2 separate regions of the Homo sapiens genome follow, and region 2 is linked to region 1. Evidence: promoter capture Hi-C in human tissues and cell types (Jung and others, 2019). All regions are on one chromosome and are shown on one strand. Each heading gives the region's core, a stretch centred on a gene start or on the middle of the fragment in contact. The rest is flanking DNA. Distances are from core to core; before and after follow the strand shown. Region 1 holds the start of CNDP1 (carnosine dipeptidase 1). Region 2 overlaps CYB5A (cytochrome b5 type A).

Region 1 (5,437 bases), core at 775-3,274:
AAATGTGGTACATCTACACCATGGTGAATACTATGCAGCCATAAAAAAGAATGAGATCATGTCCTTTGCAGGAATATGGATGGAGCTGGAGGCCATCATCCTTAGCAAACTAATGCAGGAACAGAAAACCAGACACTGCATGTTCTCATTTGTAAGTGGGAGCTAAATGATGAGAACACATGGACACATAGAGGAGAACAACACACACTGGGGCCTATGGGTGGAGGACGGGAGGAGGGAGAGGATCAGCAAAAATAACTAATGAGTACTAGGCTTAATACCTGGGTGATTAAATAATCTGTACAACAAATCACCATGACACAAATTTACCTATGTAAGAAACCTGCACATGTACTGCTAAACCAAAAATAAAAGTTAAAAAAAAGTAAAAGAATAGCAAAGGGGAAAATATATAGTACAATCTCTTCCTCTCTTTCATATCAAAGGGTATTATATTGAGTCCAAAACAAAATATTTCCTTCTTTTTTGTTTCAGACAGGGTCTTACTCTGCCTCCCAGGCTGGAGTGCAGTGGCGCAACCATGGCTCACTGCAGCCTCGACCTCCCAGGTTCAAGCCATCCTCCCACCTTGGTCTCCTGAGTAGCTGAGACCACAGGCATGCTCCACCCTGCCTGGCTACTTTTAAAATTGTTTGTAGAGTCAGGGTCTCACTATGTTGCCCAGGCCAGTCTTGAACTCCTGGGCTCAGGTGATCCTCCTGCTTTGGCCTCCTAAAGTGTTGGGATTGCAGACATAAGCCACCATGCCCAGCCAGGGAAATTATTTTCTTTCATGTTGCTTTTAACTTTAATGTTTTGAATAGATACTATCATGACACAGTTTAAAGATTTTTTAAAGTAAGACAGTATTCAGTGAAATGTCCTCTTCTAACCCCCACCCCAATGCCCTGGCCAGTCATGGGTTCTTTAAAAAAAAAAAAAAGTCAGCAATGGAAAGCATGGCCAGACCACAGGGTGAGGTTCTTTCTCTCAGAGCAGTGATTTTGCAGCATGGTGTGGGAATCTCATGGTCTTGCAGGTGGGCAAAGCCCACTTCTAGAATCCGGCTGTGGTCAGGTCACCACCTGCCTGCTCACTGTGTCTCCAGCCTCGCATTTGCATGTATTTGTTTCAGTATGTCTTTTGAGAGTCTTCTACGTATCAACCTTCCACAAAATTCTGAAAATTTCTGTGTGTGTATGTGTGTGTTTGCAATGGAAATAAAAAGCGTCCATGAATTTTATCTTTCCAAGTAGTCTGGAACACAACCCCACAAAACCTCACAGCCAAAGGTACCTGCCTGCTTGTTTTCCTAGAGAGAAGCCTTCCCGCCACACCCACACTCAGGTTTGCACCTGAACCATGGAAACCTCGCCGAGAAAGGCCTGGGGTGATTTAGCCCGGTGATTAGCTCTTGCAAACTAGCCCTTAAGTCGGGAACCTGGGACCAGGACAAACAGCACACTGTCTGTTACCATTATTTAGGCAAATTCTTCCAGGAAGCAAACTCATTTTTTTTAAAGAGAAAAAGTACAGAAAAAAATTGATTTAAGAAGACTGAGTTCATGAACAATTTGAATATGAACTACTTGACAATAATGCCATTTAATTATTGTTAAGAACACACAACTACCCAAAAGCATTACTGATAAAATATAATTCCAAATACCACATTCCTCGGCCAAGACAGCACCTAAGAACACCATGAGGAGCAGCATCTGGGGCCACGCTGGGTGCCTGCCCTGCCCAACTGGGCTTAACGCACATGCTCCCGGGACAAATGGAATTCTGGCACCCAATGCACGGACTCTGATGGAGGAGGTCCTACTCACCATTCTCCCGAGTTTGGGATCCATTAGGCTGGAGTTCTGAAGCCTCTAGCAACTTTCCCAACCTCCAAAAAATGTGGCAGAGGGAGTCCCATGAAAGCCCCAAGAGGGTGACATTAAATATCTCTCTGTGCCCTGACCCACGTTGTCCCCCGGAAGGAAGACGAGGCTGGTATAGTGGAGCTATTCACATCTGGAGAACAAAGCGGCTTCGGAGGTATTCATTCAGCTCAACTGCAGAGGAAGAGACAATGCATCTCATACGCGCAGATACGGGATGAGGCAGTGGCCCCAAAGTCATGTGATGTCACTGGAAGCCAGCAGCCTGGCCCAGCCTGCGACTCCTCGGGTTCTTCTTTGGGGGCACTTGTGTGTCATCTCTGAGAGGGAGTAGGGCCCCGGCCAGCAGGCAGAGCTGAGCCAGCGGCACAGCCCCCTCAGGTGACAGCCCCCTCACATGACAGGCCCCCACACACTGTGGCTGTGGGCCCTTGTGATGGAATGTTACGGCCGAGGATTAGCTTCCTAGGGCTGTGCAGGGGCCGAGGGTAGAGTTTTCCCAGCTCTCTGAAGGTTCGCTGCAAAATCAGCTTGCAAAGGGCAGTTGAATTGGAGAAGAGGCATAACAGATTGATTTGCTCCTAGTTTTAAGTGACATGGGAGCCTTCAGAAGGAAGGACCAATCCCTAATGGGGTTGGGAAGCTGAGACACCCTCTTGAGGTTCCACAAGGAGTGGCGGCTTAGATTCTCGCGCAACAGGTTATGGGAGGAGAAAAGAGGACTTCAGCTGAGGGCAATCAGCGCTCACGAGGGAGGATTCAGTGGGCTTGAAGAGCACGCCACGGTCTTCGTTCAAGTCTGCTGGGCCCCGGAGCAGACAATGGTCTTGACAAGTCTGTCCAGCGTGTTCGGTGTCAGCCTTCCTTCCTGAGATATGGGTTCAGTTAACGAAAACTCAGGGAAGGGACTAGAGGTCATTCCTTTCTTCTTTGGTGGGTCAGACTTGAAGGAGATAAGGACACTTCAGGAACTCTGGGAGAGATGGTGGGGGTGGGGGAGCCGAGAGGCCTTGAAGTTCCTTTTCAGTTCAGCTTGAACAAAGCACCATATTTTGGGGTATTGGCTTCTGAGCCCCAACATCTGCTCTAACAAAAGTACCCTACACTGGGTGGCTTAAGCAACAGAAATCGGTCTCAATTCTGGAGACTGGAAGTCTGAGATGAAGGTATGGGCAGGGCAGGTTTCTCCTGAGGCTGAGCGGGAAGGGCGTGCTCCAGGCCTTGACCCGCGTGGCTGCTGGCCGTCCTTGGTGTCCCTTGTCTTGTACAAGCATCACCCGATCTCTGCCCTCATCTTCTTATGATGTTCTCCCTGTGTATGTGTGTGTGTCCAGATTGTCCCTTCTCATAAGGACACAGTTGTGTGTAATCAGGGGTCCATCCTATGCCCATGTGACCTTATCTAAAGATAAGTAATTCAATCTGCAATGACCCTATCTCCATAGAAGGTCACATTCTGAGGTCTTGGGGGTTAGGATGTCAACATATAAATTTTGGTGGGAAGGTCAGGGGACAGTAGAGAAAAGGAGGCAGCAGGGCACAGGCCAGAGCCTTGGGTTGAGGGGTCCCGGGGCTTTTCTGGGGGACTGGGATTCTTTTGCATCATTTCTCTCTGAATAACTCTTGCAGGGATTGGCACACTGGAGACTTACTCTAACTGTTTGCTGAATGAAAGGACAAATAATCAAATAATTTTTACCAACAAAGAAATCTCTGGAAAGGCAGAGTTGGAACTCATTATCCCTGCTAGTTAAGGCTAGCTGTGGCTATCAGGGCCGGGCCCCTCTCCCTTGCAGAGGGGCAGCGTCTCCACCAGCTGCGTCTCTGCACCTCCTCCCCATCCTCACACCCTTTCCCTGACACTTGCCAGGCCGGGCTCCTTGAGCTCCAGGCCCAGCACAGCAGCTCCCAGGAAGTGGGCCTGGCCCTTCTTCCGAAGGCCAAGTTGCTGGGATCATACTCAGAATTCCGAGGGCTGGAAAGGAAGGAGAGGGTGAGGCTGGGCCCAGGTGTGGGCTGTGATCCTAGGAGGGTGGGGGCCCTGCTGCCTGCAGTCATCAGTGGAAAACCTTGCCCCTACCCAGCCAAAGTCACCTCTGGCAAGAGCATAGCGCACGGGCGAGCCCAGGGCTTCAAAAGCCCATGTAATTCAGATCAGAGAATTCCTCTTTCTCAGCCTCTGTCAAATGCACTTTACTCTTTCCTTGCAGAAAATATGTGAGATATGAGTGTTCCTCACAATAATTTTTTTTCTAGAAAAGAGGAAAACAGAGCTGGCTCAAATATTTTGTTAGAATCCCAGCACTTTGGGAGGCTGAGGCAGGAGGATTCCTTGTCAGGAGTTGGAGACCAGCCTGGGCAACAGAGTGAGTCCCCATCTTTATAAAAATTAAAAATAAATCAATACAAATTTAAAAAATGTTTTGTTAGTTGATTACAAAAGAAGACATTTGATTCTATTACTAATATAGTTTGGAAGGAAGGAAGGAAAGACTCCAACAGATATTAGCAAGAACGGAAGCCAAACACAGGTCCAGGGGAAAGTGCTCCTACAAGAATTCCAATTATTTTGCCTTCTCAGTCTTCCATCTTCACAGATCTCCATCTCGATGCCAGTTAAATCTGGGAGACAGTGGAGAGAAGAGAGGGGAGAAAGGGAGAGAGGAGAGAGAGATGGTGGTGGAGAGAGAGAGGGGGAGACAGAGAGGGAAAGAGACAGACGAAGAAGCTACTCTGGGTTCCCTACTCCTAACACATGTGAACCTAAGCTAGGCTGTGCTTTTCAGCTTCCCAGGTTTCCATTGGAGAGTACGAGGGGCAATGCCTGGAGCTAGTTTTCCCTCTAACTTTGCTGTGTCAGAGGCCACCACCTGTGTCTGTCGGCGGAGTATGATGTACACCACGTCGGCAGAGAGAAATACATCCTAGGTCTGTGCCTGGTAAGTAAGCTCTGTGCCAATGACATGCCCCATTTACAGACCTCGCTTGGTCAAAATCCTATCACGATTCTTCAGCCAGATCCCCTAGCACCTTCCATACCTTTCATAAGGCATCATCACTCCCCAGGAGGCACTTTACTCACTTACAAGCAGTCTTCTTTTGCATCATTTCTCTCTTGATAACTGTTGCAGGGATTCGCACACTGGAAGTTACTCTGTAACTGTTGAATGAAAGGACAAATACTTTTTACCAACGAAGAAACCTCTGGAGTGGCAGAGTTGGAACTCATTATCCCAGCTAGCTGGGGCTCATGAAGGCTTCCTGAGCATGCCTGGGGCCCTTTTCCCTGCAGTGTGGCATCTTTCTGTATCTGGTGTAGCACAAGCACGTAGCGCCCTGCAGTCACACCCAGTGGAGAGAGAAATGGACCTCAGGCAGCCTGTACTCCCAGGAGGGAGGGAAAGATCTGCTACCTCAGCGGTATTCACCAGCTTCCATTTTCTCCTCTTCCTCAACCATCTAGACCAAGCTACTGCCACCAAGGATCTGTGTAATGACGCACCACGATGCCGATCAGTCTGAATCCTGCAGCACTGAAAACTTCATGC
Region 2 (5,437 bases), core at 1,706-4,205, 260 kb after region 1:
GCACTGCTGAGCCCAGTTATGCTGCTGAGTTTTTCCCTGTAGCATGTATTACCTTGTAACATACGGTATAATGTACTCATTTATTAGTTTTTGCTTCTCTGTGTCCTTCCACTAGAAATGTATGCTCTGTGAATGCAGGACTTTTTCTCTTTTATTCACTGATAAATCCAGTTTTTAGAACAATGCTGGCACATAGAAAGGACTAAATAGTTATTTATTGATTGAATAAGAATTAAAAGTTTATAAATATAAAATACTAGAAAGCTGATGTGGAATGGCTGCTGGGTGACATTGAATAATTTTCTGATACCTTATTTTATTTCTCCTTTGTCTCACCTGCATATTTCAACCCAGTTTATTATGATTAAACATGAAAGAGAGGCCTAGTTATTTGGCATTGAGAGGAAAAAAAACAAAAGAGAGAGATGGGCACATGCCACTGTCAATCCTGCTTTCTTTCCACCTCTGGGCTGAGCGTAGGCTATTCTATTATCTCTTTTGTTTTTTATTTATTTTTATTTATTATTTATTTATTTTTGAGACGGAGTCTCACTCTGTCGCCCAGGCTGGAGTGCAGTGGCACGATCTCAACTCACTGCAACTTCTGCCTCCCGGGTTCAAGCAGTTCTCCCTGCCTCAGCTTCCTGAGTAGCTGGGATTACAGGTGGCTGACACCATGCCTGGCTAATTTTTGTATTTTTTAGTAGAGACAGAGTTTTGCCTTGTTGGCCAGGCTGATCTCAAACTCCTGACCTCAGGTGATCCGCCTGCCTTGGCCTCCCAGAGTGCTGGGGTTATAGGCGTGAGCCACCGCGCCCGGCCTTGTCTCATCTTTTGGCCATTCCAGCTTAAGATAGATCGTAGTTAGAGTAACAGCCTCTCTTAGGTCATCACTCATCTACCACTGGGCCCCCAGTTTTGGTGGCTTGCATATTCCTCTGAGGACATCGGGTTGCATTGGGTTACAAAGCAGGAGGTAAGCTGTGGCAGCTCTGGGCCTGGCAGGACTGGTGCCACAGTGCCCTCCTGCTCTTGTCCCTCAGAAGCAGGCCTGTCCCTGGTCCTTCCCTGTACCCCAAGGTCATCATGTCAGAATTGGTGGCTTATGTACTCTTCAGAGATTAGAGGAAGAATTAGCACACCTGCTTTATTTTATCCAATGAGACAAGTGTAGTAATGGTAGAAGTTGAAATACTGGTCAGGGCATAGTGACCAAAATTTGGTTACCAGTACGTTTTAGACCAAACATTTACTAATTCAGTTCTAAAAGTAATTAAGAAGAATTTTGTTTCTCTTTTTCAAGAAGAGGAAATTCTAACAGCATTCTGCAGGATGATTGCCAGCTCACAGGCTGTGCATAAGACCTGTCTGCCCTTGGCCTAACTAACCTTTAAGAACCATCTCATGTAGAAATGTCTATTATTTTTATCATAGGATGTTTCTGTGAATGTGTGCCATTTGGTTCTGTGATTCAGGAGAATCCAGCCAGTTGATTAAATCCAGAGATAACTTTTGAAGATGAAGGAGAGGTGGTGAGAAGGGGGTCCCTTGGGTTTGGTGCTGGAATTGGCCTTCAGCAATTTACAAAGGCCAGGAACTGTGCCAGGGACTATACATAGTCTCTGTGGCAATATAAAATGGGGATGAGGAAGAAGGAAAAGTGAACTGATCTTTCTCGAACATCTCTTACTTGCCACGGAGTCTGCTAATTAATTCACTTAATCCTGCAGATGGGTAGCTGCCAGATAGACTGTGCCTGAGGGACTCAGGAATCATCTGGACTTAGACCCCTGTTAGCAGATCTCAGCGAAGTGGCTCTCCTCTCAGTACACACAGTGGTCAGGAGACTTGGCGTGGAGTCAGGCGGCCTGCGTTCATTCCCCAGGGCCTCCCCTAACTGGCTCCGTCACCTCTGTCTGTAAAGTGGGGATAGTAATGGTAATGCCTGCCTCTTGGGCTTATGAGCTTTAGAAGGGTCCACACAAGTGCTCAGAATACTTCCCTATACACAGTGAGCATTTATTAGATGTTACCCACTGATATTCATCATTATTTGTCCCTAGACTTTTTCCCTGGCTGCTAGAGTGGAAAGGAGAGAAATTGAAGGCATTTGTTCAGGCTGTGAAATGCAGAGATCTTCGGCAGAAACTCCAGGTGCTCTCTTCCAGTCTGGGCTTTCTGGGTTAATTTCTCACTGGAGACCCAAGCCCTCACCTGAGCCATATAAAGTTACCCCTGTATCCTCCATGACACCGTTGTGTTCTGCCTCAGGGCCTCTATGTGTCTGTGTCCCGGGCTTGGGATGCCTCCCCTTGCTCACCTGGCGAGCTCCTGCTGAAATGTTCACACAGAGTCTAAGCGTTGCCTCCTGAGTGACCCCTCCTGGGCCTTTTCTCTGCCTCACACTCCTGGGAGAGTTAATCCCTCCATCTTTTGTGCCATGACTCCTGCACCTGATGCTCGCCACATTTAGCTATCTGTTTACATGTCAGTTTCCTTACTAGACTCTAACTTCTTGAGGGTGGGGCCATGACTTTGCCATTTTGGTAGCAACAGAGCATGGCTTGGCATTCATCAGATGTTTGAATGAGTTTGTGGGTCCCATAGGCAAGCTGGGTGACTGCCAGAGGGGCCTCTTTAGTTTCATGCCATGACCTTCTAGGTGAAATGGGAAGTAATTCCATCAAGGCTTATGGGGATACAGTGAGAGGGTGGATATGAAGCCCCGAGTTGGTGCCCCATGCAGATGCTGGCCCCTCCACAGAGTCCAGAATGGAGCAGGACAGAAGTCTGATGAACTCAAACCAACTTTGAGGCCATCACCCTTTCCCGTCTTAGAAAAACAGCATCCAGAAATGATAGGAAATGTTTGGTCAGGGCATCTTGTTATCTTATTCTAAATCTTGCATCAATTGTTCATTCTCCAAACTCTTTTGAATTGTTTTCATTTTGGGCTTAACTATTGCAGATAAGCTCTTTAAATTAAAGGTTGTTTTTGCCTACTTGTTGTTTATGGACAATCTCTGTACTCCACCTTTTTTGGTATGTTAAGCATTTGGAATGAAAGATCCTGTTTAAAACTCCAGAATGGATGGACTTCAGTCACTTAGCATTGCATTTAGGTGAAAAGGGTTTTTTGTTATGGTTGTCTTTCTCGAACTTCTCTTACTTGCCAAGGAGTCTACTAATTAATTATATGACTTAATCCTGCAGATGGGTAGCTGCCAAACAGACTGTGCCTGAGGGACACGGGAATCATCTCGACTTAGACGCCTGTTAAAGTGGCTCTCCTCTTAGTACATACAGTGGTTAGGAGACCTGGTGTGGAGTCAGGCGGCCTGCGTTCATTCCCCTGGGTTCGGTTCATTTTTGCTTGGTTAAGCAAACCCTCCGAAGGCATGACTTTGACCTGCTGCAGATTGTCATATTGTAGTGTCGTTTTGCATACGCTTTTGACTGTTTAATAGTGACAACCTTGTAGTCAAGTGGAACCCTGACAGAAGGGTGTGTGTGTGTGTGTGTGTGTGTGTGTGTGTGTGCTGAATCTTTTGTACTTCGTAAGACCCAGAAAGGCAGGGCAGATGACAAAATTTCTTGAGGTTTAGAAGTCTGTGAAGTTTTCTCCCAAATTCTCAAAAGGGAAATTTATGAAGAAACTTTATTTTTAAGACATCTTTTTATATTTAAAGATACTTTGTTCAGAAATGTAAAAATGGTCACTTTATTTGCATGTTCAGAAAAAAAGGTGGGGGGAACTGAACTCTCAAAGTCAGAAAGCAGGGTTCCCGTCCCACCTCCCTCGTGAGCTATCAGTGTGGCACTGGGCTTCATTCCTCTGCGTCCCATTTTCTCTGTCTGAAAATTTAGGATGTTGAGTCTCTGAAGGTCCTTTGCACCTCTAAGCCTCTGGGATTTTTCACCTTCACCCTACCGTTTGGAGTCAAGATCTCCAGGTCAGTTGCCTGGTTTTGATGCCAGGCTCACAGAGGAGGTGGAGGATAGTGGGCTGTGCAGGAAGCTGAGGGAGTTAAGTATTAAGGCTGGAGCTTGTGTTGGGTCGAGGGGGAGAAATGGGGTTGGAGACGCCTCTGGGCTGGGTCAGATCCCGGTGCCGCGCTGGTGTTGGGGTATCTGGTCTGCGCACCGCCGGGTCCTCCCTGGCCACCCTACTGTGTGGCGACGGCTCCTCCAGCATGTTCTTCAAGCCTCTCCTTTTCAGCTTCTTCATCTTTATTTATCTGCTCTATTGATCCACATCCTAACTATTCTAAAGGGGCTGAGGTTATTTTTTAATAGCTCCCGCTTTTCCAGACTCTGCTGTGTTCAGGCAACAATTCGGATGCCCCTTCATGTTCCTCTTGTTGCTTGCTGCATGTCAAACCCTGATTGGTAGGAAGCTTCTCGAGGCTCGGACTGTGTATTCGTGAGTTTCAGATGCTTCTGCATGTTTACACAGGTCACTTTTCTTGACTAAATGATTGATGTAGTAATTAGGATTAGGCTCAGGAGATCCTCTAATAACTGGCTTAAGCGGGACAGGAGTTTATTTGCCCTAAAGAAGTGATCTTTGCCACCAGAGCTGTGTGATAACTGCATCCCGCTCCCTTCTCGGCCTGTCCTGGGGACAGCCTCATCCTGGTGCTCGGAGGCGGTATCTCAACTCCAGGCAGCAGGATGAAGGAAGACAGGGCACAGAGGATCCACCACTCCAGAAGGAAGACTTCTGGAAGATTCTTCCATTCCATGAGCCAGAGTTTAACCACATGAGATATGTAGCTGCAAGGAGGCTGGGAAGTATCTGTAACATCTTTCTTTGTTGGCCATTCCCAGCTCAGAGTTTTAAGTATTAGGGAGGAAAGGAGAAACAGACATTGGAGCAATGAACAATTCCACCCCCGTCCCCCTCACCTGATTTGTTCAGCGAAGGGTACCTCCTGTGCTGCACAGGTGTTGACGCTCTCTTCGAGAAGTTCCAGAGGCATTTGATTTAGCTGCAGAAATTCTCCACCGTAGGTTTTTGAGGAGGGTACAAGAAATGGTCAAAACAGTACTTGAGGATGAGATCCCAGCAGCAATATATGCAAGGGACAAAAGTGGGGTAAGGATTGGAGTGAGGAAGACCAGCTGGCGGCTGCAGCCAGAGGCCCTCCCTGGTTTCCTTTACAGGAACGGAAGCCTCTGCTGTCAATTGAGCCAGACTATTAACCTTTGACTTTGAGATTTTATAACTTGTTTCTGCAAGGCCACTAAAATGTAGCAAATTTAGGAGTTAAGGGCAACGTTAGACAAAAATATTATTCTGTATCAAGCTTAAGACAATCTCATTTGACCTAGTTATTTGAAGAATATAGCTGGCAAAGACAATTCCAAAAATATAGTGTATACCCATTTTTACTTTCTGGGTAGAGTATCTAAGGAACTATAAAATGGCCCTAGA

What was found. Contacts are between HindIII fragments. The study calls those that stand out against the background at their distance.
Region 2: a fragment that was not itself captured here is called in contact with the fragment with the promoter of CNDP1 in region 1 in 1 of the 25 tissues and cell types used here (spleen).

What each region holds. Positions count from the first base shown.
Region 1 is chr18:74,531,087-74,536,523 of GRCh38, reverse strand. CNDP1 (carnosine dipeptidase 1) reads right to left here and starts at 2,024. Exons shown (of 12, transcript NM_032649.6): 1 at 1,833-2,024. The coding sequence starts at 1,856. The HindIII fragment of the contact is 24,351 bases long and covers 1-5,437 here.
Region 2 is chr18:74,274,631-74,280,067 of GRCh38, reverse strand. All of the region lies in intron 1 of CYB5A (cytochrome b5 type A), which reads left to right. Among named protein-coding and RNA genes, the nearest start is that of CYB5A, 15 kb to the left of the region's middle. RefSeq lists an enhancer at 3,915-4,084. The HindIII fragment of the contact is 5,984 bases long and covers 1-5,437 here.